6 separate regions of the Homo sapiens genome follow, and regions 1, 2, 3, 5 and 6 are each linked to region 4. The links are contacts of gene promoters, found by promoter capture Hi-C in blood cells and fetal thymus (Javierre and others, 2016). All regions are on one chromosome and are shown on one strand. The core of a region is centred on a gene start or on the middle of the fragment in contact, and the rest is flanking DNA. Distances in the headings are between cores, read along the strand shown. Region 1 has its middle 4.1 kb from the start of LHFPL3-AS2. Region 2 overlaps LOC101927902 (a long non-coding RNA gene). Region 3 overlaps LHFPL3-AS2 (LHFPL3 antisense RNA 2). Region 4 holds the start of PMPCB (peptidase, mitochondrial processing subunit beta). Region 5 overlaps LHFPL3 (LHFPL tetraspan subfamily member 3). Region 6 overlaps LHFPL3 (LHFPL tetraspan subfamily member 3).

Region 1 (4,204 bases), core at 1,271-3,770, 1.6 Mb before region 4:
CCAGCAGGACACTAATGGGTGTGTGTTTTGTGTGTGTGTGGTGCCAACAGTGTAATTGGGAAGTCACCTTCCACTAATAAAATACATGATGCTGGAAACAAGATCTAGCTGAAGCCACTTGTTTTGCCTCAGCTGTAGTTGTTGTCTCTGAGGGCTGAAAGGGGGAAGCCCAAATAAGAGATGATGTTGTGGTCCCTATAACACGTTTATGGACAGGGCTGACACAGGAACACATCTGAAAACTTCCTGAGGTTGAGTCTAAGGGAACATAATAGATGGAAATGCAGAGTAGCCAGGTTGGAGTGAGCTGGTGGGTGAGTGAGATGGTGGGTGAGTGGGTGCGGATGATGGGGAGAGAACTATTGAACAGGCTGGGATATCATCTCCTCTAGTCTCAGTCTGTCCCTTCATAAAAGAATTTAAATTCCCTCACAAAGAATCTAAACACATAACAGTAGGGGACTGACTGACTCCATCACCTTTTAAATACGCGATGAAATATACTGCAACCATTAAGAAGGGTGTGGAGGAAGTGGATTTATTGACATGGAACGATGTTCATGATCTACTGTTGTTTTGTTTTTAGAGACAGGGTCTAACTCTGTCACCCAGGCTGGAGTGCAGTGACACAATCATAGCTCACTGTAACATCAAACTCCTGGGCTCAAGTGATCCTCCCACCTCAGCCTCCTGAGTAGCTGGGACTACAGGCGTGAGCTGTTGTGCTTGGCTTCATGATCTTTTGTTGTGCATACGTACAGTATCGTCTCGTTTTTTTCGTGTGTGAAAAGCAAATGAATTCTAAATGTTGAAAGTGGCTCCTAATTATAGGTGACTTTTCTGTCATCTTTTTATTTTCTACTTTTTTCTTCAGTGAAAATATATTACTTGTAAATTTTTTCAAAGGATAACATTATTTAATAATAACATATGCCCTTGGAAATATTTCTTTGATGTTTAATTGGAGAGAGGAATTAGACGAAGAATACTCTTGACTGTCAAAGTCAGAGCCTGGGTCCCACCCACCAACCCCCACCAACCCACCCCCTACCCCCTGCGCTCCCTCCACTGCTTTCCATCTCAAAGCTCCTGTCAGCGGGATTGCCCTTCTGAGCCCTGCTGGGAAGGATGTGGGAGATATGATAAGCATCACTGCTTTCATTAGGAGAGGGGCCTAGGGGGCCTTAGGCAGGCTGAGTGACTGGCTCTGAAATCCCTGGTTAATCGGTCCTACAGGAGGTAGGAACTGGCCTTCCTTTCTCTCTCCTTCTGTTTTCCAGCTGCCAGCTGCTCCTCTAATGAATAGGTTTTCTTCTGGTTTCAGTCCCATGACTTTGCTTTCCAAGTGCTATTGTACCCAGGCCAGCTGGTGAGCAGGACTGGTTTTTAGGGTTATAGAGTCTTCAGGTCACACAGGGGTTAAGTGCCATGGGAAAGGCCCAAGCAGAGTTAGAAGGTCACCAGGAAATCAGGAGGCAGGGCAAGGGTGAAAGGAGGTGGGCCTCCCTGCACGCACAGTCTGGGCGAGTGTCCACTAAGTTGGCAGAGCATTGTTAGGGACTTGCCTGTAGGGTTCCTACAACAAAACAATCAGGGCCTGGGTGGGAGCCAGGAGAGTGTCCAGGTGTTCCAGCAGACAGCGATGCAGACTTTTGCCATGGCTTTCAAAGGTTGAAGTGGGTCATGCCCCCCTTCTCAGCAGTCCTGTGCCCTCCGAGGGGTACAACGATGCCAGTGAGGGGTCCTCTTGAGTTCCCAAAATTCCTGCAGTGAGGAGCTCAGAACCATTGTGCAGCTTTAGAAAACTGTTTGCCTTGGGAGGCTGAGGTGGGCAGATTACAAGGTCAGGAGTTCGAGACCAGCCTGACCAACATGGTGAAACCCCATCTCTACTAAAAATACAAAAATTAGCTGAGTGTGGTGGTGTGCACCTGTAATTCCAGCTACTCAGGAGGCTGAGGCAGGAAAATCGCTTGAACCTGGGAAGTGTAGGTTGCAGTGGGCGGAGATTGTGCCATTGCACTCCAGCCTCGGTGATAGAGTGAGACTCTGTCTCAAAAAAAAAAAAAAGAAAAGAAAAGAAAACTGTTTGCCTGCAGGACTCTTTGTCGTTTGTTTTTACTGTGACCTGGGACCTCTCTCAGTATGGGGAGAGCTTTTTTTTGAGACAAAGCCTCACTCTGTTGCCCAGGTTGGAGTACAGTAGTGCAATCTCTGCTCACTGCAACCTCCGTCTCCTGGGTTCAAGTGATCCTCCTGCCTCAGCCTCCCTAGTAGCTGGGATTACAGGCATGTGCCACCAAGTCTTGCTAATTTTTGTATTTTTAGTAGAGACAGGGTTTCACCATGTTGGCCAGGCTGGTCTTGAACTCCTGGCCTCAAGTGATCCACCCGCCTTGGCCTCCCAACGTGCTGGGATTACAGGTGTGAGCCACTGCACTCAGCCAGTGTGGGGAGATCTTACCTGGAGAAAAGGAGAGGCCTGAGAACACCCAGCCTTCCCAGCACTCTGGGGCTGTAGCCTCTCAACTCTTCTTGGCTGCTCTTCTGAGAATAAAAGAATTCTCACATACCAATTTCAGGGGGCACAGCTGGAAAATAGGGAGCAGTGGTGATTAAGAACTCTGCCTCCTTCTAGCTGCTCTGAGCCACAGTTTCTTTATAGGCAAAAGGAAATACTCATAGTGTATGTTTCCAGGTTGCTGTGAGATAATGTAGCATAAAGAATTGAGAGGGCAGTGCTGGGAACATACCAAGCAGGGATGAACTTGAAAAACATGTAACAACCAGTAAGGGCAGAGGAAGCTCCTTCTTTGTAGATTGGAGGTCAAGATTGTGCTGGAGCAGGTTCTGGAGAACACTTCAGTGCCAGCATTAACCGATTAGCTGCTGGGCTGTGGGGAGTTTCCAGAGAGGCATTGGGTGAGGAAGAGGGGTGATGCTATTTATAATCAACTATGAAATTATTTAAATATTTTAATAATAAGCTATGGCTGTATACTATGTAAATAGTAACTGTAGTTCTAAGTATTAGTAAATATTAATGGTTAATTAGTATAAAGATTAGCTATAGGGCTTTTATAGCTAGATTCCCTCTTCCCCAACACGCACACATATACCTCCATTCTTATTTATTTATTTAATTTATTCTTGAGACAGTCTCACTCTGTTGCCCAGGCTGAAGTGCAATGGTGCGATCTCTGCTTACTGCAACCTCTGCCACCCAGGTTCAAGCGATTCTTCTGCCTCAGCCTCCCGAGTAGCTTGGATTACAGGTGCACATCACCATGCCCAGCTAATTTTTGTATTTTTAGTAGAGACAGAGTTTCACCATGTTGGCCAGGATGGTCTTGAACTCCTGACCTCATGTGATCCACCTGCCTTGGCCTCCCAAAGTGCTGGGATTTTTGGTGTGAGCCACTGCGCCGGGCCTTCATTCTTAACCTTAAAGAAAGAAAAACAAGCAAGCACTTAGGAAAAGTACAGGACCAACATGGGTCAGACTTGGATTCCAACTGTTCAGATGTGCAGTACTCTGGAGCCCAGAAACACATGTGCACCACCAGCCAGAGGGCAACTGCTTTCAGACAAGCAAAGCTCTGTTCTCAAGGCCCAGAGTTGGGTGGACCTTCCTGTCATGCTCCACCCAATGTGGAATCTGCAAGTTACCAGAGTGGAGTTTCAAGGAGACATCACTGGTTGGGGGTATGGAAAAACACCCCTGCACTTGCATGGCAAATCAAAAGGAACTCTGTATAAGTTTGCTAGGTGCTCTGATCTGAATGTTGGTATCTCCCTAAAATTTCAATATGTTCCAATATGTTGAAAGCTAATACCCGATGTGATAGTATTACCAGGTGGGCCTTCTGGGAAGTGATTAAGTCATGAGGGATCTGCCCACAGGAATGCCATTAATCCATTTATAAAAGAAGTTGGGGGGAGTGCCCTTCTGACCCTTCCACCATGTGACGAAGTGACACAAGGCGCCATCGGTGAAGCAGACAGCAGCCCTCACCAGACATCAACTTTGCTGGAGCCTTGATCTTGGACTTTCCGGCTCCAGAACTGTGAAAAATAACTTTCTGTTGTTTATAAATTGCCCAATCTAAGAAATTTGGTTATAGCAGCCGAACTGAGTAAGTCACTTGGGCTGCCTTAACAAAGAACCACCGACTGGGTGGCTTAAACAACAGAAATTTATTTT
Region 2 (3,937 bases), core at 919-3,418, 1.7 Mb before region 4:
GGAGCAAAAAAGCTTCTGCACTGCTTACCATTGTTGCATAACAAATTATCCAAAAACTCAGTAGCTTAAGCAACTTTTAAATTTTGCTCATAATTTTATGGGTCAGGAATTTGGGAAGGGAATCCGGGACACTCCATGGTGTCTGGGACCTTAGTTGGGGCTAAAACTCAAACTGTACACACACCAATGTCAATATTACAACTACACCATAGAATGCAGTTTTAGATTTCTTTGACGTTTGTTTCAGGCTGAACTGTGTCTCCTCCCTGCCCTTGCCCCCCTCCCCATATTAATACATTGAAGTATCTCAGAATGTGACTGTATTTGGAGATAGGATCTTCAAAGAGGTAATGAAGGTTAAATGAGCTCTCTATGGTGGGCTCTAATCCAATATGACTACTGTCTTTTTTTTTTTTTTTTTTTTGAGATAGAGTCTTGCTCTGTTGCTCATTGCAACCTCCACCTCCTAGGTTCAAGCGATTCTCCTGCCTCAGCCTCCTGAGTATCTGGGACTACAGATATGAGCCACCACGCCCGGCTAATTTTTGTATTTTTAGTAGAGACGGGGTTTCACGCCATGTTGGGCAGGATGGTCTCAATCTCTTGAACTTGTGATCTGCCTGCCTCAGCCTCCCAAAGTGCTGGGATTCCAGGTGTGAGCTGACTAGTGTCTTTATAAGAAGAGATGAGGACACATACGTGCACAGAGAGAAGACCACGTAAAGACACAGAGAGAAGGCAGTCATCTACATACCGAGAAGATGGGTATCAGAAGAAACCAACTCTGCCACACCTTGACCTTGGACATCAAACCTCGGGAACTGTGCAGAAGCCAGTTTCTGTTGTTTAAGCCACCAAGTGTGTGGTGCTTCTTATGGCAGCCCCAGCAAACTAATATACTGTTTCCATTCATCTTTAGGCTATATTACAGTACAGATCGCTTACTGTATTTTAAAGTCACTTAAAATAATTCATCTCTGTAAAATTAAATCACTAATTCAATACACAGTTAAAATTATTTGTTTCAATTGCATTCAGTTTTTAGGAATTTCTTTTTTGCCCCCATCTTTATTAAATTTTATTTTTATTTTTATTTTTTGAGACAGGGTCTCACTCTGTTGCCCAGACTGGAGTGCAATAGAGCCACCTCTGCAACCTCTGCCCCCTGGCCTCATTTCAGCTTCCCAAGTAGCTGGGAGTACAGGCGCCTGCCACTACACCAAGTTAAACTTTTTATTTTTTATAGAGATGGGGTTTCACCATGTTGCCCAGGCTGGTCTCGAGCTCCTGGGCTCAAGCGATTCACCCGTCTTGGCCTCCCAAAGTATTGAGATTATAGGTGTGAGCCACTGTGCCTGGTCCATCTTTATTAAATTTTGTTTTATAATTATGTAAAACATATCCAGGTGGGTGCAGTGGCTCATGCCTGTAATCCCAGCACTTTGGGAGGCCAAGTCGGGCGGATCATGAGGTCAGGAGATTAAGACCATCCTTGCTAACACAGTGAAGCCCCGTCTCTACTAAAAATACAAAAAATTAGCCGGGTGTCGTGGCGGGTGCCTGTAGTCCCAGCTACTCGGGAGGCTGAGGCAGGAGAATTGCTTGGACCCAGGAGGCGGAGGTTGCAGTGAGCCAAGATTGCACCACTGCACTCCAGCCTGGGCGACAGAGCAAGACTCTCAAAAAACAAACAAACAAACAAACAAACAAACATATCCATGGTTCCAATGTCAAACCTACAAAATGAGGCACATTCAGGGAAGTCAAGCCTAGCTTCCATTTTTCTCCCTTCTACTCTCTTCCCCTATCTCCTAGATAACTATTTTTACTGGTGTTTGGCTTATGCTTCCACTTCTTAAATATATATTTATTTACATTTTGAGACAGAGTCTCACTGTGTCACCCACCATAATCTCGGCTCACTGCAACCTCCGCCTCCCAGGTATGAGAGATTCTCGTGCCTCAGCCTCCCAAGTAGCTGGGATTACAGGTGCCCACCACCAAGCATGGCTAATTTTTGTATTTTTAGTAGAGATGGGGTCTTGCCATGTTGGCCAGGCTGGTCTTGAGCTCCTGACCTCAGGTGATCCACCCATCTCAGCCTCCCAAAGTGCTGGGATTACAGGTGTGCGCCACCATGCCTGGCCTCCAGTTTTTTAAAAAAGGCACATACATATATGTAGTTGTATTTCTCCTTCTTAGATAGCATACTCTATGCACCATTCTGCACTTTGTTTTTTTCACTTAATATAGGTTATACTAATACACAGAACTACTTCTCATTCCTTTTTACAGCTGCACAATATTACTTGTGTCGACGTCCCCTATAGGTGGACATTTGCATTTTTTCTAGTCTTTTGCTATTACATAAAGTGTGCATATAGCATCCTTGCATGTCTGAGACTTTAGGATGAAATCTGATTAATCTGCCAGGGTCTACATCTATCCCTGTCTCAAAGTGGGCTATTTCTATAACTTACCCTGATCGTTAAGGTATTACATTTTTCATTTTTTCTTATCTCACTTTGCATGAGAAATAGAGTATAAATAACTCAAGCTCCCATATTCAAAATAACAGGCATCGAGGGGCTTTTGAAGGGAAAAAAAAAAGCAGCAATCAACATTTCTGTGGGTTCCTTATTCAGCAACCTGTGGTCCACCTCCAACCCTCCACCAAGAAGACCAGTCAACGATTATACAAATGCCTCTAGTTCCGTATTCCATAGATTTGCCCTACCTAGATCTACAAAAAAAGTGAGACCACATCCCCTTAGGCAGCATCTTACCATTGCTGTGTGTTGAGGCACCTGCTCCATTCACTTACATATTCAACAAATATTTTATAAATGTGTACTATGTACCACATGTTGTGCCAGGTGCTGAAGACAAAGCAGTGGGTGAGATAAATCCAGCATCTATCCTCCTGCAGTTCAGACAGTGGCTCTTAGCTTCTGTGATTGGCTGAAGCCATTTTTGTTCAACACATGAAAGAGCACTTAAATATTCTTTCCCAAAGACCTCACAGCTTCAAAAATACCAAAATACCACCATCTTCCCAAGGTGAACACTAGACTGTGAGTTTCTCCTCATTTTATGGAAAGTGATGGGAAAACACCCAGATGATTTTGCAGTACTCCTGGTGCTTCATTCTCAGGGGCAAAATTGGGCATAAAACCTAGGTATCTAGATCGTGTCTGCAAAGGAAGCAATTGCTCTAATTCTGATAATCGGCCTTTCCTTTACATGCCTCTGAGACAGGGTCTTGCTCTGTCGCCCAGGCTGGAGTGCAGTGCCACAATCTCGGTTCACTGCAACCTCTGCCTCCTGGGTTTAAGCGATTCTCAGGCCTCAGCCTCCAGAGTAGCTGGGATTACAGGTACACACCACCACACCCAGCTAATTTTTGTATTTTTGGTAGAGATGGGGTTTCATCATGTTTGCCAGCCTGGCCTCAAACTCCTGGCCTCAAGCAATCTGCTCGCCTCGGTCTCCCAAACTGCTGGGATTACAGGCGTGAGCCACCGTGCCCAGCCTACATGCCTCTTCTAAATCAATCATGTTTCATGATTGCAAATTTTGCATTTATTTTGTGCTGGACTCCCAAGTTCTTTTATAATAAACAATAGTCACCATTTATTAAATATTCACTAGGTTCCAGGCATCCAGGCTAAGCCCTTTACACTAAATCATGTAGTCTTCCCAATTATAAGTACCATCATGGTAGCCATTGTATAGAGGAGAACACTGAGGCTTAGAGAGGGTCAATAAAATTCCCGAGGTCACACATCTAATAAGAGCAGACATGATTAGAGAAGTCACATCAATAGAGGTACAGAAGTCTCTGGTATGATGAATAAGCTATAGCTCAAGTATTAATAGTAATCATTAACTTCTTTTTTCTTTTTTTTTTTTTTTTGAGATGGAGTCTCTGTTGCCC
Region 3 (4,201 bases), core at 502-3,001, 1.6 Mb before region 4:
TAGCACGGACACCTGATGGGCACAGTGCACTGCAGCCCAGAGCTCCTGAGCTCAAGCCATCCTCCTGCCTCAGCCTCCAAGTAGCCAGGACCACAGGCACGCACCCTGAGGTATGCCATTTCTCTTTGGTTCTTGTTATGGTAGTTCCTCTGTTTTTCCCTGTATTTTTACTGTCATGTCTTCCTTTATATTTATCTTGCTTGATATCTATTGTGCTTCCTATATGTGTGGATTCATATCTTTATCATTTTTGAAAAATTTTCAGACATTTTCTATTCAAATATTGCCTTTCCCTTATTCTCTCTATTTCTCCTGTTGGAAATCTGGTTAGATGTCTGTGTCTTCTCTGTTGTTTAACCTCTTTGTCATTTACCAACCCCTTGGCTTTTTGTATTGTATTCTGTGTAATTTCTTTAGATCTGTCTACTAGTTCACAGCTCCTCTCTTCAGTTATACCTGTTTGTAATTTACACATTGTACTTTAAATTTCAGTGATTATAGTTTTAATTTCTAAGACTTAAAAAATTTCCTTCTAATCTATCTGATTATATGTAATGTACTCTTTATTGTATTCATTGTTTTAGACGCTGTCTTTATTTCCTTAACATGTAAAACATGATTATTTTATATTGTGTATCTGGTAATTCCACTATCTAAAATCTGTAGGGTGATAAGTCGGCTGTTAGTTATATCTGCTGATTATCGCTTACAGTTTATTTGTATATTTAGTAATTTTTATTTTTATTTTTGAGACGGAGTCTCGCTGTCTCCCAGGCCGGAGTGCAGTGGCGCGATCTCGGCTCACTGCAAGCTCCGCCCCCCGGGTTCACGCCATTCTCCTGCCTCAGCCTCCCGAGTAGCTGGGACTACAGGCACCCGCCACCACGCCCGGCTAATTTTTTTCTTTTTGTATTTTTAGTAGAGACGGGGTTTCACCGTGTTCGCCAGGATGGTCTCGATCTCCTGACCTCGTGATCCGCCTGCCTCGGCCTCCCAAAGTGCTGGGATTATAGGCGTGAGCCACCGCGCCCAGCCATATTTAGTAATTTTAAAATTGCAATTGCATACTTTGTTGAGCTTAATTGGTGAGAGCTATGCGAGAGATGCTTTCCTCTAGACAACAAATGCTTGTATCTGCCTGGTACAAGGGGCCCTAAAAAGCTCTTTAATTTCTTGGTTGGGGTTTCTTTGATCATATGGAGAGTGTAAGACTGAATTCCATACTTGACGGGGGCAGGCATATGATAAATTTCAAGGGGTCATTATTATTTTTTTTTTCCATCTAGAGCCAGTGTGGAGATGGTGTTCTTGATAGATTTCTTTCGCTAGCATGAGGATTTTTCCTAGACCACTCTTGCCTAGGATGTAGCCATCTTCAAGCATCCTGCTTTTGGATGTGAATGTCAAATTTAACTCACCTGCTTCCAGTGGCCCAACGCTTAATCTTCCATTCCCTACTTTGTTATACAGATTTACCTTCAGGCAAGCCCAGTTTTTGCCTTTGCTTACATTTCACACTTAGTTTTCAGCTCACTCCACTTCTTTTTTGAAATGTTTTTGGAATTTCCCTTATTTTCTTATAATCTAAGCTGTGTGTTAAAAATAAACTTATTGTAATTTATCTAAGATTTAATAGTATGGCATAAGAAAGGCTTTTTAGAGGCTGGGCTCAATGGCTCACGCCTGTAATCCCAGCACTATGGGAGGCCAAGGTGGGTGGATAATGAGGTCAGGAGTTCAAGACTAGCCTGGCCAACATGGTGAAACCCCGTCTCTACTAAAAATACAAAAATTAGCTGGGCATGGTGGTGCGGAGGTTGCAGTTAGCCAAGATCGCCCCACTGCACTCCAACCTGGGTGACAGAGCCAGACTCCGTCTTAAAAAAAAAAAAAAAAAAAAAAAAAAAAGAAAGGCTTTTTAGAGTATCTAGTTTATACTGCTAGATGCCGAAACCAAAAGTAATCTTTTAGAAATGTGAAATAGTTTATATCACTCTTCTGCTTAAGATCCTCCAGTGGCTTTTTCTCACACTTAAAATGTACAAACTATCCTGGCCTACAAAGCCCAGAGCTGGGTCCTAGCTTAGCCCACGTGGCTCCCCACTCTGCCACCTTGCCGTTCCTGGTCTGGCATGCCTTCTGCTTTTTTCACACGTGGCTTTTAAACGTTTGTTCAGGTCTCACTCTAAATGCCACCTTTTCATGGAGGCCTTACCTGACTCCTCTCTCCATTTCTCTGTCAATCACCCTGTTTTAATTCTCTTTAGGGCATCTATTATTAGCTGACATTTTCCAGTCTATTGTCTGTCTTCCCCTACTAGAACATAAGACCTATGAAAGGAAAGCAGGGTTTTGTGTGATTCACCACTATATTCTCAGAGTTTAGAACAGTTCTTGGCACATAGTAGGAACTCAATACATATTTCTTGAATCATTAGAGCTGAGCGTTGACTACTTATTCCCTTTAGACGGGACCTAGGCTCTTCAGTGCTCCACAGTTCCCACTACTTCCTTTTAAAAATTTATTTTATTTTATTTAAAAAATTATTGTTGTTTTTTTTTTTTATTTTCAGAGAAGGGATCTCACTATATTGCCTAGGCTGGTCACATACTCCTGGACTCAAGTGATCCATCTGCCTCAGCCTCCCAAAGTACTGGGATTAGAGGCCACTGTGCCAGGCCAGTTCCTACTACGCCCTATTATGTCCCCAGCTGAGCTTGCTTTGTGAATTTATTGGCCCTTGTACGCATTTGAATTTTCAATCCCTGCTTATAAATGTCACTCTAATTGTCTTCAGGATCTTCAGAGCAGAGACTTTTTTTTATGTTTCTTTTCTTCCTTCAGTGTCTTGCATATAGTAGGAGGGGAAGGAATGAACATTCACTGAATATCCCCTACCTGTCAAACACAACAACAGTATAGTTTAATTTATATCCTTACAACAATGCTATGGAGCTGAGTAATATTATTTATATCTATTTTACCAGTGAGGACACTGAGGCTTAGAGTTGTTCAGAGTCATATAGTAAACCAAGGATCAGGGATTGGAACCCACTCAGACAACATATACCCAGTATGAAGTGTTGTTGCTTCATATACCCAGTATGAAGGGTTGCTCATGTGCGAGGAATGGTTGGTTGTTTTCAATTTGCAAAGGGGAGATTGGGCAATTGGATATTGCAGGTCAAGTTTTACTTGAGTAGTCCAGCTATTTATTTAGTTATCAATTTCATTCCACTGAGTGTATGGAGAATTAGCTGGAGATATTCCTACATTTGGCCAGAAGAGGCTTTGGAGATGTTAACCATGCCTTCTACATGAGAGTCCTGCTGTTGACAGATATGGAATCCAACAGCAGGGAGATTTTCCGAGATAGTTACTTCAGTGGAACCATCAGCTGTCACCAGATCACTGGACAAAGACAGAAACTGAATGCACCAAATATGTACCACACCACCAAAAATTCTTTTAAGTAACAAAATCTTATTTTTATTTTTATTTTTTTACAGAAATTCAGGTATTCCAACAAATTTCTTTACATTTCTTGGACCTTAAAAAAATTACACACAACTTTTGGACGCAATACAACAGAACAGAATGAGAAAGGGAGTCACCTTTTTTGTTTTTTTTTTAAAAAGATAAAAACCTACTTCTTATATTTAATTAACAATTAGTGATTTACATGTGTATTACCTATATACAAATGGTACATCGTCAATGACCCATCTTCAGAGCACTGTGGTATGCTAAATTACACTTAGGTTTTATGGCAAAAACTTTTTTAAAACATTCACATGTGGATAGGAAGTACTTTCTTAGTTTTGTTCATACCACTGTTAGTGATGTAGGACTCCCGATGGAATTTGTAGTTTGCATGGATTAGAGAAAGCCAATACCCTTTGTTTTTATTGTAGATAAAGTAGACAGGTACCTCCCTTCAAATAAAATACGAATTCTTGAAAAGTTGTGTGTAATTAAATTTAGTAAGTAGGGTGTTATGGATGTAGTAGGGAGCTAATACTTAAAGCAACAAATAATCCTCAGAATGACTAATACTTTAGTTGTAGATACTAAGTATTCCCTTAATTTGGTTCTTTAGAAAAGCCACATCTCTGTGAATTGGGTTTTACTCCTTTGAGCATACCCATAATATGCTTTTAGCCATTTGAAACATAATGCCATTTATGGTGAAAAGATGGC
Region 4 (4,081 bases), core at 655-3,154:
TAAGATTTTCTTGACCTGAGTGAATTGATAGTTCATTCCTGTGAACTATGAGATTTAAAAATTTCGATCAGGATACTGCTGGGTGCTACAAGTATCTACCTGCCACCTTCAATGAGGATTCTTTGCCCAACTCATTAATCCAGCCAATTAATAACTGTAGTATCAAGAACATCAGAGACTGTCAGAAAACTTCGGTTGAAATCCTGGCTCTGTCATGTATTAGCTGAGTTACCTGAACAAAACCATTTAACTTCTCTCACTTCCTTAACTATAAAACAGGTGTGAGGATGCCCACTACAAACAATTGCTTTTTATCAAATAAGACATCAGTAAAAACACTTGGCAGAGTAGCCCTGCAAACATATTTCTTTCATTATTATCAATACTACTGAAAATAAATAATCAATAATAAGCTACAAGAACAAGATGCAGACAATGCAACAGGATACATATGCACCCTGTAACTAAGTACCACTGGAAGAAAAGGTTCACAACTCATGGAAATCTGTCAAGGCAAAATAACTGTCACCCTTTTTGAACCACCAGCCAACGAAAAAGCTAAAGATTAAAATCAACAATTTGCTACGCTAAATGAAGGGTCACTTAGAGAAGGTTGCCTGAGTCACTTACTGTGCATGTTGAGAGCCCAGAGTCTTCCGAAGCTACTCTGAGTCCACTTTCTAAACATGTTACTCTTGTTTCAGGAACATTCAGAACAACTTGGGTAGCAGCCTGTGTACTTCTTAATCTGTTCTCTCCAAAATATAATGACTGGTTGGGGGTAGGAAGTGGAAGAGACAAAGCAAAACACATTACTAATCTGATATTAAATGTTGCTTTTAAAACCAAATCTATTTTAAATAGGCTGTCTCTATAAAAGAATCTTTCTTCTTGAATTTTGGTTCCACTGAGATCTCTGCCTGGCCTAGAAACATCTGTCACCAGCCACTGTCCTAAAGCCAGCAACGTGTTTATAAACATGCCCTTCCCTCAGGGAAGATGAGCAATTATTATCATTACCCAGAGAGAAATTGACTTTATTTCACTACCTCTCCTAGAAATGTTTTATATTCATTATGGAGAAAACAAGCAGGAAAAAAAAAAAGAGAGGGAAACTATGTAAAACTACCTACACACAAGACAAAACTGACACTCGGGTTTTCATTGTTCAAGAAAAGCAACAGGGTTTGGAAATGGTTAAAAAAAAAAAGAGAGAGAGGATAGGAAGATGGGTCGATGTTCAAAATGCAAATGACTGGCTTTTCGGCCAGAAACTATTCGCCTTTCAGCAGTTTTTCTTTGCCCTTATACAAAAGTCTCACATCCCTTTGCTTAAAGTCAGAGGCTCTCTCATGAGAAAAATGCAAATACATAAAAAATTTTACTTCATTGATGTCCAGGTTCGCGGGAAGCCCAGCTGAGGACGAAGTTCAGTCTTAGGCAAAAATAGAACTCTGGAGCGGTACCCATTTCACTTTTTAGTTTTCCCCAATTTGCAAGCACTACGTTTTTAGTGGTCAAACATGCACTCCTCAGTAGCTGGCGGGAGGAGCCGAAAACCAGGGTCATCCCACACGTCACTAGCAGGTCTCCTGGCGGGTGGCCACAAGCCAGTCACCCCCGGCCAGTTCAGCAGCCCCAGGCCGCCTGGCGCCCGGCGGGTCCGGGTCGAGGAGGCCCTGCCCGACCCACTGTTCGGATCTGTGGCGCCGACTCTCAGGTGCGCTGCGCCGGGTCTGGCGAGATCTCGAGGACAGGACCGGCCTGGAGGGAAGCTCACCCGTCCCGCAGCGCCTCGGATTAGAAGACTCTCGCTGAAACCCCAGAGCCGCCGCCGCGCCGCGGATGACAACACCACTCGAGCCGCCGCAGCCGCCATTTCTGCTAGAAGGAAGGTAGAGGATGAAGGATGTGCTTCCGGGGTCGCGACCTGAGGTCCCAGAGCAGGGAGGTGGGCTCCACCTTGTGGCCGTGATGGGAATGACACTCCTCGAAGCGGTTGTGAAAGCAATCAGGGCCCGACCATGATGCTGAGCGGTCTTTACCAAATGAATTGGGGAGTCTGCAGAAGCCCCTTTATCATCAGTTATTTTATCGATCGCCTACTAAGTGCAAGGCACAAATGCGGTGGAATGAAAGGTAACCTGATGCAATATATCTCACTGGTGGATGGAATTGATTGAAAACAGTGGAATAATATTCATAAGTCACTGCCTTTAAAGGAAAAGTCTAGTGGGAGAGACAGATGCCGTGAGGGGAGGAAACGATGTATCCGTGTTGACCACTATCCACTCTTCGAACCTCTACAATATGGCTCATCTCATTCCATAGAAATTGCCCTTGGTAAGGTCACTAATTGCTAAAAGTTGGACACTTTACAGACTTATGTTACAGTCCTGTTGGAGGATTTGACATTGTTGGCTTCTTTGAAATTCTCTTTTCTCAATATATTCTAGAGCTCCACCTCCTCATAGTTCCCTCTGCACCTTCTTGGACTCCTCTTTATTCACAGATCTGTTTTTTGTTTTTGTTTTTGTTTTTGAGATGGAGTTTCACTCTTGTTGCCCAGGCTGGAGTGCAGTGGTGCAATCTCAGCTCACTGCAACCTCTGCCTCCTGGGTTCAAGCAATTCTCCTGCCTCAGCCTCCCAGGTAGCTGGGATTACAGGCATGTGCCACCACGCCTGGCTACTTTGTATTTTTAGTAGAGATGGGGTTTCACCATATTGGTCAGGCTGGTTTTGAACTCCTAACCTCAGGTAATCCACCCACCTCCACCTCCCAAAGTGCTAGGATTACAGGCGTGAGCCACTGCGCCCAGCCCACAGATCTCTCAAGGAACTAAAAATTGCAAATGCTTTTCTAACTCAGGTAGATGGTATAGTGCTTATTTTGCAATTAAGACACTGAAGTCAAATAACTTGCCCCAGGTTACCCTGCTAGTAATAGGTTAACGCCAAAGACTGTGCTGTGAAACACTACATTTTGCCCTAAAAGTTGGTGTTTGCCAGGACTCTAAGCCTCTTCTACTGAACATTCTCCCTCTGGGTTTTTCCCTCCACTTCAAGACCTGTCTGCCCAACCCAGGCCTTTCTCTTGAGCTCCAGCCCACTTAACCATCAACTACTAGGAAACTACACTTGAATACCCCATTGGAAACTCAATATCAACTTGTCCAAAAGGGAATTCACTGTGTCCCCTGAATCTCTTCCCATATTTGCAATGCCAAACAGCCAATCATACCTACATTTGCCCAAAACTCCAAACCACCCAGAAGCTCCTCTCTTTTTCCATCTTCCACATTCAATTGATACACCCCTTTCCTGCCTCTTCAATCTACTCCAGGCCCATTGTCAGTTTTTTCACATTACTACCTATAGGATCTTTTACAAATGAAACTGTTACGGCAGTCCCATTATGAAGAATCCATCAGGGAGCCCTTGGTCACAATAAAGTAAAGGGTCCTTAGCATGGCAGGTGGGGCCCTTCATGATCTGACTCCCATTTATCTTTCCAGACTCATCTCCCTCCACCTACCCGGCTGCTATGCTTCGCAGGTTCAGTCCACAAGACTCATGATGTAATGTAATAAAGGACGACCAAGGTTATTCTCTCATGTTTCTAAAACAAATGTGTGTTAACCAAAAATAAATACAAACATGCATACATATATACAAAAACATGTAGGTATAATCACAGGAAGCACCTAGGAAGTTTTAGCAAGAATTTGTATTCAATTCTAATATACTTCATGGTATTAATTTATTAGTCATTATTTACAGTCAATATCTTAGAACATAAAGCCTACAGAAATTAAGTGCACCAGAGTAGAGCCAAGAAATCAAAGAATTTGACTACTCCCAAAATAGCCCTACACCCACAACAGTATCCATAACTTTTTTTCTTTTTTTTTTTTTTGAGACGGAGTTTCTCTCTTGTTGCCCAGGCTGGAGTGCAATGGTGCAATCTCAGCTCACTGCAACCTCCGCCTCCGGGGTTCTAGCAATTCCCTTGCCTCAGCCTCCCAAGTAGCTGGGATTACAGGTGCCCACCACCACACCCGGCTACTTCTTGTACTTTTA
Region 5 (4,268 bases), core at 1,220-3,719, 1.6 Mb before region 4:
GCCCCCTCCCGGGAGCCACATCAGTCTCCATTTCAGGTAAAAAAATGAATGAACAAATCACAAAGATGGTCCTCACTGGCCACCTGAGCCTGGCGTGTCATCCACAGAAGAGCCTGGCTTCCCCGCCATTTCTCCCATGGCCTCTGGCCTGAAATAGTTTTCTTCTTGTTAGCGGTTGATCTCAGCTCTGGGCAATGAGACCTTCACCCGGCCAGTGTTCAGAATCCACTGAACGGACTGAGGGGGAAGGACTGACAATCAGTTCTAAAGGGACAAACACACAGCCAATTTAGCTGCTTAGTTCCAGACCCTGCATGTAAACAGTAAGCTAGGAGCTCTGAGGCAAGTCTACTGCTCAAGGCAGCAACTGGGTATTTTCCCCTGAGCTCCACGGGGCGTTGTAATGCGGGGGAGGAAGGGGATGGAGCAAAGATTAAGATGCACAGGACCAGTAAGGCCTCCTGTCTGCTCTGCAGGTATAGAGCAGGAGAATCTCCCAACCACTTGTTTTTTTAGAGACAGGATTTCACTTTGTTGACCAGGTGAGTGAAGTGGCACAATCATAGTTCACTGCAGCCTTAAAATCCTGGGCTCAAGGGACCCTCCCAACTCAGGCTCTTGAGTAGCTAGACTATAAGTGAGTGCCATGAAGCCTGGCTAATTTGTTATTTTTATTTTTTGAAGGGAAGAGGGTCTCACTATGTAGCCAGGCTGGTCTCAAACTCCTGGCCTCAAGTAATCCTCCTGCCTCGATCTCACAAACTTCTGGGATTACTGGCACAAGCCACCAAGCCTGCCAGATGTTTCCTTATCCTAAGAAGCGAATGAGAAGAGGAGAGAAGGAAAGATCTCTAGGAAATATAATTAGGACTGCTCTTTAATTAAAAAAACTGATTGAACATGTATAATTTTGAGATGGTATAATATAGCAGGCAGAGTGTAGCAGCTTGAACTTGAAAATTTCTACTTCATCAAGGTAATATGTACATTGATTTTAAATGTTTCCATTAATTTATCCACTGAAATTCTTCATATTTCCAAGATTTCAGTTCTCGTTGAAATCTTTCCAGAGTTCTCCTGTTAAACTTTGTTCATATAAAGATGACTTTATGGGAGAATATCCATTCTTAGAAAATGCTCTTTGGAAAAGCCAATACTTTCCTTGTTTTTGTTTCTGAGACAGAGTCTTGCTCTGTCACCCAGGCTGGAGTGCAGTGGTGTCATCTTGGCTCACTGCAACCTCTGCCTCCCAGGTTCAAGCGATTCTCCCACTTCAGCCTCTTGAGTAGCCAGGACTACAGGCTTGTGACACCACACCTGGCTAATTTTTGTATTTTTAGTAGAGCTGGGGTTTCACCTTGTTGGCCAGGCTGGTTTTGAACTCCTGACCTCAAGTGATCCACCTGCCTCGGCCTCCCAAAGTGCTGGGAGTACAGGCGTGAGCCACCACGCTCGGCCTGGAAAAGCCAATACTTGATTTTTAAAAAGTCAGACCATACAAATGATCTTATAATGAAGAGTCACCCCACTTCATCCCTTCTCATACCCGGTCTTACTCCCTGGAGACAAGCTGTTTTAATAGTTTCCAGTTTTATTGCAGTAGTTACTTCAGTAGTCTAAATACTATGTTAACATTTGTTTAATTATGCATTTATCAATTTTAGACACTATATGTTGAGTCTTCTCTAGAAAAGTGAAGATTCACCTCCGTTCCTTCTCACCTCCTTTCTCTCCCAATTTTGATTTTAAACAATGCCTTTGTGAGTTTAAATAATAGGTATACCTTTACTTCTTTTTTTTCTTCTCTTTCTGTCTTTGGTCAGATTCAACTCATCTCTCCTTGACGTGAAGCTATCATGTAACTTCTTTTCCTTCCATCTTTCTAACTGCTGACTTTCTGATGTAAGCTTGACTTTTCAAAAGTCAGTATGGGGATTTTCAGTGGATTCATTAACGGAAACAATTTGGACAGAAATCTCCCCTCTTCCTTCGCCTGGAAAACTTAGACTCATCCCAAATATTCAAGTGGCTTAAGATTTCTGCCTTCTACAGCCTACACATGATTGTCCATGCATTGTTGACACATGTGACAGTGACTCCATTGTAGAGGTATAACGTATCTACTTACAAGGAAATCTTCCTCACTGACATTGTGCATGCCTCAAGGACAAGAACCAGGCCTTACATCTCTGAATCCCCATGACCTAGCAGAATGCCTGGCACATAGTAGGACTTCAAGATCTCTTTGCTGTGGAATGTGTGTATATCTGTATTATATATCTCTTTTTAAAAGACAGGATCTCTGTCACCCTGGCAGGAGTGCAGTGGCATGATCATAGCTCAGTGCAACCTCCAACTCCTGGGTCCAAGAGACCCTCCTGCCTCAGTCTCCTGGTTAGCTGGAGCTACAGGCATGTGCCACAACACCTGGCAATTTAAATTTTTTTTGTAGAGATTGGGTCTTGCTATATTGTCCAGGCTGGTTTCCAAACTCCTGGACTCAAGTGATCCTCCTGCCTCAGCCTCCCAAAGCACTGGGATTACAAGTGTGAGCCACCATGCCTGGCCTCTATGATACATATTTACATAATTAGAATGTTTATTGTTTGAAGGGGTAAGATGTCTTAAAAATATGTCCAAACATGAAAACAAATTAATGCAGTGTCTCTAATATTGTGGTCCCCTGAGTGAGCATGTATGTATGTGTACATGTATGTGAGGTTCTTGATTTTGGAAAGAGTAGACACAGTGGCTCTGTGAAGGATCAGCCCACAGCAGATGAAGTGCCACCTGCCAGAATGAAAGGCAGAGCTGCTTTCTCCAGTCAGGTATACAAGATCTGCTTCTCTTTGTAACTTGTTCTGACTCTCAAGCTGTTGAGAGTTGTCACAAATAAAACCCCCAAACAACTCTGAAAGTCCTACCAGTAGATCTAGTCCACTCAATCTGAACCAAGATGACCTGCTTCTAAACATATTTCCAGGATTTCAGCTCTCATTGAACTCTTTCCAGCATTCTTCCTTTAAGCTTTGTTCATATAAAGATGACTTCATAAGAGAACGTCCATTCTTAGAAAATGCTCTTTGCAGAAGCCAGTACTTGTAGTAGAGGCTGTCGTTTCTCTGCCACTTTCCCCTTAGGCTTTACCATTTCAGTGCCCACTGGGCCAGTGTTTAACTGCCAGCCTCTGCGTCTTTTTGCTGGAGGACATTCTCTGACCAGCAGGGTCCTCTCTGCTTACCCATGGGACAGACTGGAAATGCCAGGGAATCACCATCCCTTACCTCTAGCAGTCCTCAGTCAATGACTGATGAGAATTGATTTATAAATATCACTTCCCTTGCCCCTGGAATCTCAGAAATCCCCAGTGGGATTGCACTCCAGTTACCCAAGTAATGACTTGTTTGCTAATACTCCCTTTATTGACCACCTTCCTCTCCCCATCTCACTTTTTCATCCCCTACCAGTGTCTTCTGGGATCTCTACGTACAAAAATGACCTGCACTTAAATCCCGTGTCAGCATCTATCTATGGGGGAACCCAAGCTAGGGTAATATTCTTATACAGTAAGTTAGACAGTCATCTTTCCTTCCCTTCAGTTATTTCCTACAAGGGAATCATTTAGCCTTCTGTTATTCACCGTGGAGCTAATGCTGATGTACCCCTGGTGGAAGTCAGTGCCCATCTTTGTGGGAAACATTTATAGGGGAATGGCTGCCAGTATAACAAGTTTTGGCATGAAAGGAGAAAATTCTCTGGATTTCTTTCCTTTCAGACGTGGGAAACAAGTCACAAAGCAGATCTTTCCAAATCCACAGTTAAATGTTCAGAGCAAGTGAGCCTCTTTGTGAAGCCACATTAGTCTTCCTTTCCCTTGACCCTGGGGACCCCGGGGACCCCGGGAGGACTTAAAGAGTTTTAATGTGATTTCTGGAATGTGCTTGATTTTCAGAGAGAGCAGCTTAGCCCATGGGAGACTCCATTAATATAATTTTGCAATAGAAAAGCTTCCTATTGCCTAATCTCATTAATTGTGTTTTATGTACAGTAAATGGGTAAAAGCTGAGTTTGTAATTTGGTAAATGTGAATGTATAATTTTTGAGGACTTAGAATGTGGAATAAAGAAGAATTTACTTAATATGTAAAAAGAGGCTGGGCGCAGTGGTTCATGCCTGTAATCCCAGCACTTTGGGAGGCCAAGGTGGGCAGATCACCTGAGGTCAGGAGTTCGAGACCAGCCTGGCCAACATGGCAAAACCCCGTCTCT
Region 6 (4,483 bases), core at 1,085-3,584, 1.6 Mb before region 4:
ATTCTATCCTCTAGGGTTATGTGAGAACCAAGTGATAATCAATGAGGAGTGCCTGGCACGTGTAGGTATTCAGCAAATGTAAAGGAAAATGTCAATTACCTTTTCAGCTGCACCCTACATCCTGATCACAAGCTGTCCTGAGGCAGCTCAGGGTTTTTGCTATGCAGATCCCAAGTGAAGAGATAAGACCCCTGGAACACAGCACTTATATTTTGGTTAGTCTTTGACAAATGACATGGGAAAAAAACCCAGAGGCTTAAACTGTGCTGCTATTTGTAAGTGGTTAGTGACTATACTTGTCAGCAAATGCTCTGTAAAAATGGATACAGGAGAGTCCATTTTGTTTGGCCAGAATGAAATTCAACACACTCATAGGAATAGTGAGTCTCCAGTAGGAGGTCAACCCCCTACCCATCATTTTTGCATCATTCACTTTATAAGATTTTGAGATGAAAGAGATAAGTCAAATGGAGATCAAGGAAAACAACAAAAAATAAGATCTGGAATCAATACCACAAAGCCACTGCTATTTTTATTATCTTTTTGGGGTGCAGGTTAGGGCTGTATGACTAATTAGGAAAAGCTCATTAAGCTAAATATGAAGGGCAATTAACACAGGATCACTCCAGCTCTGTGTAACTGGGCTCTGCCGTCCACATCTGAGATAGCATAAGGTGGTGTACAGACACTCGGTTTCTCAGTTATACAACATCTTTCTACACATACTGTCGTGTTACTGTATCAGACCACCAGGCGGAGCAGCCCAAGCAGCTGAGCTCTTCTTCCAGCTCCGACTCGGCAGCTAGGGGATCCCAGGTTTACCTCTTTGACTCTCCCGTGGAATGAATGTTACTTATCAGGCTCTGCTTACTTCCCAGGTTGTGGTGAGGGCCAAGGAGAGGTGTGGATAAAGCTCCTTGGAAAGCTGGCCCCAGGGTTCAGCAGGTCCAGGTCTGTGTCTAGCTTTGAGCTTTGCAGGGGTGAGGGGTAGCTGGATCTGGTACCCAGTCAGGGGTTTGGGCACTGCGGGACCAGCGGCTTATACACAGGTTGGCCCAGATCTACCCTTCTCCAAAGCAGAAGGAAGCATTAAGACTTCCTTTGCCTTGAGGATGTGCTGCTTGAGGTCAGAGAAAGCTGAATTCAAATGCAGCTCTATCAGAGCATCCCTGGGCTAGCACTTATCATCTCAGAACCTCATTTTCATATCTGAAAAATACAAAGGAGATAACACTGCCTACCCAGAAGGCAAGTAGAAAATTAGAGTAATGTTTTAAAGTGCCTGGTGCCTGGAGGTGGCAATATGTAGTAGCTCCTAAGATTAGTTCTTTTCAAGTCCACTCCTGAAGTTCATTTTCACCCCATTTCATCTGCATTACAATTCAGGGCATAGGGGATTCTAACTAGCCTTGGTCTGTAACTTCCAGCAAAAGGTGGGGGTCTGATTTTTCTGGGTGGCAGACTATGGCATTTTGGGGAAGTTGTATTTGAGGCTTAAACTCAAAGAAGGTGGCATTTGGAGGGTATTTTTTTTTAATCTCCATGTCAGGTGATTTCCTTTTACCCCTTGATAGTTGCAAACAAATTGCTGGAAGATGGTGTAAGAGATACTCGGCAGCATCGCTTGCCAGAGTGAGCTCTAACCTGCTGCCTCCAGGAATGAGAAGCTGCAGTGCTTTTATAATAAACAGGCAGCCCAGCCCTACCACGAGCCAGCCTGTTCACCAAAGCCTGTGGATTCCTGCCATCAGCAGCGTGGACAGCAGCACTCATTCCAGGTCTTGTTGGAGAGAATAACCTCTGGATGTCTCTGCCAATCCAAAGCTTGCCTGACAGAAATGCTTTTTAGGGAAGATCTTCTAAAAGGGAAGGCATCTCTCCCCTCTTCCCCAGGTTCTCCAAGTGTGCGTTTGACCATGTTAGACCACCAGGAAGCTCGGTGCTTGACCATTAGTTTCTCCTAGAATCACTTTCTAGGAGAAGAATCACTTTCACCCAGGTTGGGTGGCTGCGTTTTTTTAGAGAAGGCCACCACTTCTGCCAGGAGGCTCCTCCTCTAGCCACAGGTACAGACAGCTTCAGCTACACTTCTCTCCAGCATTAGATAACAGCTCTCTCTGTTGCTAACCCGGGAGGCCCTGTCATCCTCCAAGGTTCTCCCAAGTCCTCTCCATAGCTGTGGAAATAGCTGCTTCTCCCAACTATCCTAAATTACCCTGTTTGAAGGTGCCATCTGTCTCCTGCTGGTATCTGACTGATGCAGGCACAATCCTCACAAAAACTCCCTGAGGTAAACATTATTGCTCATTTTATATATGAGAAAAAATAGTTAAATGTACTTCCCAAGGTCATATACACTGTAAGCCAAAGAGCTAAGCCTCAAACCCAGACCTGCCTTGTGCCCTTTATCTCTGTCTTATGTCCTCTTAGGGGGGCAAAATGTTTTTGAAACTGTCTTTAATCACTCCCTTTCTTCTCCTTTTCCCCACACTAACACACAATCTAATACAACTAATATAGATGAAAAATATCTGGCTTAAATAATATTGAAAGAAACCTTTATCAACAACAAAATGGAGAATTCACCGGCTCTCTCTTATTATCTTATGTTTTACTTTTTTAAAAAAGCTATAAATAGCACCTAATTGCATGCGACAGTGGAAAGCACAAGATTGTCGGAGAAAAGTCTGAGATGGCATTGCCTCTGGTAGTTGTATTGATAAAAACATATCCCAGAAAAAATTTAAAATAAAAAAGATTAAATTCTCCTGTCTCCTTGGGGCTGGATTCTTAGCACACTCTATGTGTCCCTGTCTACTCTGGAGACAGGAGATATAAGCTTAAATATTTTATTTAATTTTTCTAGTTCTTGGCAAGAGAAAGAGAGATGTCAGAAGAGAGACAGGCATTCACTGGTAGAGTCTGAAATTTCTTCTATAAACACTTTACATTCTAGGAGATGAAATACACGTAAATACTTTTAAACTGTTACATATAGCTGCCTTTTAAGATACTTAGAATAGGCTGTTACTGCTCCCTCTTAAAGTGTCTGGTTGAAACACCCTGATGCTTTTGTGAAGAGACTGCAAGATGGGGGTAGTATGAAAGGAATGGGTGTAGATCCTTAAGGGGCATCCCCAGGGCAGCCCTTGGAGGACTATCCTGGGAAACCTAGAGGTCTTTAGCTCTTTGCACATACAGTGAACCCCCAGGATGTTATGAGCTCCCTTTATTAGCGGTAAAGTGCTTGATCAGCCTTTGATAAACAGAGACTCAGCAAATCTTTAGTTGGTGCTCAGATTTAGAACAAATATATTGCTGGAAGTAACTACACCATGCAAGGTTCATTATTCAGCAGTGGATTATTTCATAATCAACCCTGCCTGCATTGGGCAGGGAGAGCCGAGTAAGTTTGCACAACAGGCCTGAGAGAAAAAGGCCATTTGAGGTATGCGTGTGTGTGTGTGTGTGTGTGTGTGTGTGGGTGGGTGTATGTGTGTGTGTATTTGGGGGGTGGTGGTAGAAGGATTAGAAGTGAAATTAAGTCCCAGTCCAACACTGAGTGGGGTTATGGGTCGTACTTTATTTCTTAAGCCAAGTGGTGAGTAAGCAGGTGTTTATCACATCATAGTTTATGCTTCTGAAAAAATGTTACTTTTAGAGTAGTTTTAGGTTTGCAGCAAAATTGAGCAGAAGGTACAGAGTTCCCTTACACAACTTGTCCCCAGGTATGCACTGTTTTCTGCACTATCAACATCTCCTACCAGTGATACATTTGTTACAATTGATAAACCTACATTGACACATCATTATCACCCAGAGTTTATAGTCCACATTAGAGTACACTTTTAGTATTATACATTCTATGGATTTATACAAATTGACAGATGTGTATCCACTATTATAGTATCCTAAGTAGTTTCATTGTTCTAAAAATCCTCTGTGGTCTCCCTATTCATACCTCTACTTATACTTTATTTATTTATTTATTTTGAGATGGGGTCTTCCTCTGTCACCCAGGCTGGAGTGTGGTGGTATGATCTCAGCTCACCGAAACCTCCGCCTTCCGGGTTCAAGTGATTCTCCTACCTCAGCCTCCCGAGTGTTTGGGACTACAGGCATGTGCCACCATGCCCTGCTAATTTTTGTGTTTTTGGTAGAGATGGGGTTTCACTATGTTGGCCAGGCTGGTCTTGAACTCCTGACCTCAAGTGATCCGCCTGCCTCAGCCTCCCAAAGTTCTGGGATTACAGGCATGAGCCACCATGCCTGGCCTACTTAATGCTTTTTTGAATGCAGAAAGTATTCATAATAATTTTTTTCAAAAAGAGTGACTAGGTAGGGTGGTAATAGAAATGTGAATAACAGATTTTGGTTTTTTGTTTTTTTTTTTTTGAGACAGTGTCTTACTCTGTTGCCCAGGCTGGAGTGCAGTGGTATGATCTTGGTTCACTACAACCTCCACTTCCTGGGTTCAAGTGAT

What was found. Contacts are between HindIII fragments. The CHiCAGO score rates a contact against its expected background, and 5 or more counts as called.
Region 1: a contact is called between a fragment that was not itself captured here and the fragment with the promoter of PMPCB in region 4, in 3 of 17 cell types (naive CD8 T cells, total CD4 T cells and non-activated CD4 T cells). The highest score is 7.7, in naive CD8 T cells.
Region 2: a fragment that was not itself captured here is called in contact with the fragment with the promoter of PMPCB in region 4 in 3 of 17 cell types (naive CD8 T cells, naive CD4 T cells and non-activated CD4 T cells); the score reaches 9.1 in naive CD8 T cells.
Region 3: a contact is called between a fragment that was not itself captured here and the fragment with the promoter of PMPCB in region 4, in 2 of 17 cell types (total CD8 T cells and naive CD8 T cells). The highest score is 6.1, in total CD8 T cells.
Region 5: a contact is called between a fragment that was not itself captured here and the fragment with the promoter of PMPCB in region 4, in 6 of 17 cell types (total B cells, naive CD8 T cells, M0 macrophages and 3 more). The highest score is 8.8, in total B cells.
Region 6: a contact is called between a fragment that was not itself captured here and the fragment with the promoter of PMPCB in region 4, in 1 of 17 cell types (total B cells). The highest score is 5.1, in total B cells.

The regions. Positions count from the first base shown.
Region 1 is chr7:104,928,653-104,932,856 of GRCh38, reverse strand. No RefSeq gene overlaps it. Among named protein-coding and RNA genes, the nearest start is that of LHFPL3-AS2, 4.1 kb to the right of the region's middle. The HindIII fragment of the contact is 6,184 bases long and covers 1-4,204 here.
Region 2 is chr7:104,947,066-104,951,002 of GRCh38, reverse strand. The region is part of intron 1 of LOC101927902 (a long non-coding RNA gene); the gene reads right to left. Among named protein-coding and RNA genes, the nearest start is that of LHFPL3-AS2, 22 kb to the right of the region's middle. The HindIII fragment of the contact is 4,307 bases long and covers 15-3,937 here.
Region 3 is chr7:104,907,825-104,912,025 of GRCh38, reverse strand. LHFPL3-AS2 (LHFPL3 antisense RNA 2) reads left to right here. Exons shown (of 4, transcript NR_027374.1): 3 at 1-110. LHFPL3 (LHFPL tetraspan subfamily member 3) reads right to left here. Exons shown (of 3, transcript NM_199000.3): 3 at 3,465-4,201. It also overlaps the pseudogene RN7SL8P. Among named protein-coding and RNA genes, the nearest start is that of LHFPL3-AS2, 17 kb to the left of the region's middle. RefSeq lists a silencer at 1,691-1,847. The HindIII fragment of the contact is 7,345 bases long and covers 1-4,201 here.
Region 4 is chr7:103,295,258-103,299,338 of GRCh38, reverse strand. It overlaps PMPCB (peptidase, mitochondrial processing subunit beta), which reads right to left and starts at 1,904. Exons shown (of 13, transcript NM_004279.3): 1 at 1,781-1,904; 2 at 631-771. The coding sequence starts at 1,879. RefSeq lists enhancers at 1,650-1,949, 2,050-2,109. The HindIII fragment of the contact is 11,349 bases long and covers 1-4,081 here.
Region 5 is chr7:104,886,548-104,890,815 of GRCh38, reverse strand. The region is part of intron 2 of LHFPL3 (LHFPL tetraspan subfamily member 3); the gene reads right to left. Among named protein-coding and RNA genes, the nearest start is that of LHFPL3-AS2, 38 kb to the left of the region's middle. The HindIII fragment of the contact is 1,120 bases long and covers 1,910-3,029 here.
Region 6 is chr7:104,859,179-104,863,661 of GRCh38, reverse strand. All of the region lies in intron 2 of LHFPL3 (LHFPL tetraspan subfamily member 3), which reads right to left. Among named protein-coding and RNA genes, the nearest start is that of LHFPL3-AS1, 57 kb to the right of the region's middle. The HindIII fragment of the contact is 1,015 bases long and covers 1,827-2,841 here.